Linked DNA regions of Homo sapiens: region 2 is linked to region 1. Evidence: promoter capture Hi-C in 16 types of primary human blood cells and fetal thymus (Javierre and others, 2016). All regions are on one chromosome and are shown on one strand. The core of a region is centred on a gene start or on the middle of the fragment in contact, and the rest is flanking DNA. Distances in the headings are between cores, read along the strand shown. Region 1 holds the start of ATP1A1-AS1 (ATP1A1 antisense RNA 1). Region 2 overlaps CD101-AS1 (CD101 antisense RNA 1).

Region 1 (2,506 bases), core at 6-2,505:
AGAGATGGGGTTTTTGCATGTTGCCAGGCTGATTTCAAACTTCTGAGCTCAAGCCATCTGCCTGCCTTGGCCTCCTAAAGTGTTGGGATTATAGGCAAATGAGCCACCACGCCAGCCCACAATTCACTTTAAACACAAGTGAAACACATTTCATTAGACAGTGGAATAGACTTATGTCAATTTTCTTTTCTCTCTTATTTTACACAGTCTGATTTCCTGAAGACAGGAGGCGGGAGTAAGCTAATCAGGCCCTGAGTTAGCTGTTTCCAAGAAGCTTAGAGTGTCCCACTTACCTACGGGTTGCAGGGCCCGCATTGCCAGTAGGGCTGGCTTTTAGGGATGCTGCTGTTGGTGTGTGCTGTACTTGTTTTCTAGGATTGGGACAAGCTTCCTTGAGCTCCTGACTTTAGAGACCAGGTTTGGGAACTGATGGGTGCAGCAAATGCAAACAGACAGCAAACAGGCCAAAGAGGAGATTCATTCACTGAAGAGGGCCCTGGTACAGTACTGTCGAGGTTTTGCGGTGGCCTGGACACGGCTGGCTCCTTCGACTTACACAATATATCTTCTCTCTCTCTTACCTGCACTTATAAGAATCGGTGCTAAGGGTATGTGCCTACCACAGTGCAGCTTGTAGATTAATGAAGAAAGAATTGCTGCCACTTCCCAAATATTAAACGCCAGGTTCTGCCTATGCATATTCTCTCAACCTTCACAACACACCTACTAACTCCAGCTTACAAATGAGGAGACGAACCAGCAGGCTGTTCCAGGCGTCTGGTTGTAAGAGCAGTGGCAGTAGAGAAAATGATTTATTTTAGCACCAGCCACTGTGCTAATCCCTTTAGATATCATCTCATTTAATCCTTTTAACAACCCTGAAGCACCATCCTTATTCTAAAGGGACTTCGGACCTCTCTGCGGTCCACACTGTCCCCTGCTCGGTGCAGGAGTGTAGACTGGGACTGTTCCGTCTGGTGGTCTCCCCGACAAGGGTTCACCTGGAAACTGGCCTTTGGGCTGGGATTGGGACTCTGTACTTAGGCTGGCAGCCCATATTAGGACTGGGCACCGTGATAAGCACTTTCTTACCGCAAATGCACGATTTCACTCGGCCCTCACACACCCCACGAGGTGGGCACCGTCACAGTGCCATCTCACAGGCAAGGAGGCCAGGCCCAGGCCCTGAGGATGCGCCGCTCAGGTGGGAGCTTCCGGGGAGCTCGCGCGACAGCCTGGGGGAGCGCGGATTCGTCTCTGCGCTACGGCGGCTGCAGAGGGTCAACCCGCGGAGGCGGCGCTTCGCGGCGGGTCCTCGGCCTGAGGCTGTGGGATGCCTCCAAACCCGGCGCGGCCTCCGTCTGCAAGGAGAGCAGAGGGTCCCCGCCGGGAGCGCGCCCGGCTGCGGCCCCAGGCGGCCCTGCCCGCAGCCGCCACCTGAGCTTGGGCGCGGCTCCTATCTCCCACCCGCGCGTCGGCCAGTGAAGGGCTCCGTGCTTAAACATCATTCGTTACAGAAGTATTGCGGCCATCACACGGCATTTTAAAAACACGAATGATGATAAATAACTTTAACACTGCTTCCAATTCTGCCTCCAAGCACAGCATCATTACCATTTGCATGCGTTTCACTTCATTCGATTTCCATGTGTATGGATTTGTTTCTACATAGCTGTGGTAAAACGCACATACTAAACTGAATCCAGGGTTGTTTTCCACTTTGTAACATGAACATTTTCACCGTGTTAGTACTGACGCTTCCTACCTATAATTTTTAATGGCAGGACTTTAAAAAATTGGGTTGATACGCTGTCACTTCTCTGAGCATCTCGCAAATGTTCAACATTCAAGTGGCTTCCAAAGCTTCACGATTATAAATTATTCATTCTTTTTTGTTTTGTTTGGTTGTTTGTTTGTTTGTTTGTTTGTTTTTTGAGACGATGTCTCGCTCTTGTCGCCCAGGCTGGAGTGCAGTGGCGCGATCTCAGCTCACTGCAACCTTCGCCTTCCAGGTTCAAGAGATTCTCCTGCCTCAGCCTCCTGAGTAGCTGAGATTACGGGCATCTGCCACCACGCCCACCTAATTTTTGTACTTTCAGTAGAGACGGGGTTTCATCATGTTGGCCAGGCTGGTCTCGAACTTCTGACCTCAGGTGCTTCTCCCTCGACCCGGCCTCGGCCTCCCAAAGTGCTGGGATTACAGCACTTTGCTGCCCAGCCCATTCTTGTGTATAAAGTCCTTTCAGTATTGAGATCAGTTTCCTTAGGTTATATTCACAGGAGTGAAACTGCTAAGTCAGAATGTGAGCATTTAAAAGCTTTCAGTATTATTGCCAAATGGCTTTTCACAGATGACTCAGGGAGGTTTTGGTACTTGGAACACTGCTACTTATATCCCACTCCCCCCCCCCCCCACCAGGAAAACATCTAAAGTGCACTTTTTTTTTTTTTTTTTTTTTTTTTGTGAGACGGTATCTCGCTCTGTCGCCCAGGCTGGAGTGCAGTG
Region 2 (2,506 bases), core at 6-2,505, 640 kb after region 1:
ATGTCATTTTAACTTAGGTTTAAGTTCCATACAAACGTTAAAGGAAAAAGACTTTCAAGACCATTTAAAAAGAGGAAGATGATGGCTAAAAAGCACACGAAAAAGAGTGCCACATCAATAGAAAAATCAAAATTCAAACAAAAGTCAGATACCACTTCATACCTACTAAAAAAGGCACGCAATAACAAGCATTGTTGAGGACATGAAGAACTGGGAACCCTCATACGTTGCTGGTGGAAATATAAAATGGTATAGCCACTTTGGAAAGTGGTTTGGCAATTTCTTAAAAAGTTAAACAAACTAACCATATGAACTAGCAATTCCACTCACAGGTTTATCTGCCCAAGAGAAATGAGAACAAATGTTCATATAAAGACTTTAACGTTAGGCCGGGTGCGGTGGCTCATGCCTGTAATCCCAGTACTTAGGGAGGCTGAGGCAGATAGATTACCTGAGGTCAGGAGTTTGAGACCAGCTTGGCCAACATGGTGAAACCCTGTCCCTACTAAAAATATAAAAATTAGCTTACGTGGTGGCTCGAGCCTATAATCCCAGCTACTCGGGAGGCTGAGGCAGGAGAATTGCTTGAACCTGGGAGCTGGAGGTTGCAGTGAGCCAAGATCATGCCACTGCACTCCAGCTTGGGTGACAGAGCAAGACTCCATCTCAAAAACAACAACAACAAAAAACAAAAAAACAAAAACAAAAACAATAAAACAGACTTTAACATTAATGTTCATAGCAATATTATTCCTAATAATTCCAAAGGGAAAATGATCCAAATGTCCACCAACTGGTGAATGAACACAATGGAATATTACTCAGCAATAAAAAGGAGTGAAATACTGATACATGTGCAACATGGGTAAACCTCACAAGCATTATGTAAGTGAAAGAAGACAGAGGCAAGAGACTACATATTACATGACTCCATTATATGAAATGTCCAGAAAAGGCAAACTTATAAAGACAGAAAGCATATCAGAGGTTGCCTTGGGACTAGCTGGGGGTGGCAGTTGGGATTGACTGCACACAGCTTTGAGGAAAGTTTTTGAGTGATAGAAATGTTTTAAAACTGGATTCTGGTGGTGATGGCACAACTTTATAAATTTACTTAAACAATGAATTGTGGGCCAGGTGTGATGGCTCATGCCTGTAATCCCAGCACTTTGGGAGGCCGAGGCGGGTGGATCACCTGAGTTCAGGAGTTCGAGACCAGCCTGGCCAACAGGGTGAAACCCCATCTCTACTAAAAATACAAAAATTGGCCAGGCGTGGTGGCGGGCACCTGTAATCCCAGCTACTCGGGAGGCTGAGGCAGGAGAGTCACTTGAACCCAGGAGGCAGAGGTTACAGTGAGCCAAGATCATGCCACTGTACTCCAGCCTGGCAACAGAGTGAGACTCTGTCTCAAAAAAAAAAAAAAAAGAATTGTGGCCGGGCGCGATGGCTCAAGCCTGTAATCCCAGCACTTTGGGGGGTCGAGGCGAGTGGATCACCTGAGTTCAGGAGTTCAAGACCAGCCTGGACAACATGGTGAAACCCCATCTCTACTAAAAATACAAAAATTAGCTGAGCGTGGTGGCACAAGCCTATAATCCCAGCTACTCAGGAGGCTGAGGCAGGAGAATCACTTGAACCCAGGAGGCGGAGGTTGCAGTGAGCCAAGATCCTACCATTGCACTCCACTCCAGCCTGGGTAACAGACAAGACTCCAACTGAAAAAAATACCTGTACATTTACCAAAAAAAAAAAAAAAAAAAAAGAAGAAGATAAAGAGCCTGCATTGAACCACTTTTGGAATAATATTTTAAGAACAGTGAAATTTGGAATCTAGTACTGAAAAAATATTGGTATAACAAAATAATTTGTAAAGTCTCTTGGCTTTACAAATTATAACCACATTTGTTCTCACTATAGTATCATCCTGATCGAGCCTATGTCAAAGGACAAGTTGAAAACAGTCATATGTTTGAAAGGCACAAAATGAAATGAAATGAAATTGAATTACCATTATATATCTTCAAACAAAAAGAATGAAACAGAGGAGGGTGGGCCTCAGTTTGGTTTTTATGTTACTAGGCTGCTACCTAGTGGTCATTTATAAAATGGCAGGACTTGGGTTTTTGGTTTTTGTCTTGGATTTGTTGAGCCATGTCTCTACACCACAGCAAATACCTAAACACTTACCGATGTGTGGGTTAAATATCTGAATGCATTGCTGAATAATTTATGCTTTATAAAAATACTATAGGCTGGGCGCAGTGGCTCAGGCCTGTAATCCCAGCACTTTGGGAGGCCGAGGCAGGTGGATCACCTGAGGTCTCAGGAGTTCGAGACCAGCCTGGCCAACATGGCGAAACCCCATCTCTACTAAAAATACACAAAATTGCTGGGCGTGGTGGTGGGTGCCTGTAATCCCAGCTACTTGGGAGGCTGAGGCAGGAGAATTGCTTAAACCTGGGAAGTGGAGGTTGCAGTGAGCCGAGATCACGCCACTGCACTC

Evidence for each region. Contacts are between HindIII fragments. The CHiCAGO score rates a contact against its expected background, and 5 or more counts as called.
Region 2: a fragment that was not itself captured here is called in contact with the fragment with the promoter of ATP1A1-AS1 in region 1 in 8 of 17 cell types (total B cells, fetal thymus, naive B cells and 5 more); the score reaches 10.2 in total B cells.

The regions. Positions count from the first base shown.
Region 1 is chr1:116,417,367-116,419,872 of GRCh38, forward strand. It overlaps ATP1A1-AS1 (ATP1A1 antisense RNA 1), which reads right to left and starts at 1,256. Exons shown (of 3, transcript NR_027646.1): 1 at 1,093-1,256. RefSeq lists an enhancer at 1,081-1,375 and a silencer at 1,335-1,464. The HindIII fragment of the contact is 1,476 bases long and covers 386-1,861 here.
Region 2 is chr1:117,053,440-117,055,945 of GRCh38, forward strand. All of the region lies in intron 1 of CD101-AS1 (CD101 antisense RNA 1), which reads right to left. Among named protein-coding and RNA genes, the nearest start is that of CD101-AS1, 4.8 kb to the right of the region's middle. The HindIII fragment of the contact is 6,290 bases long and covers 1-2,506 here.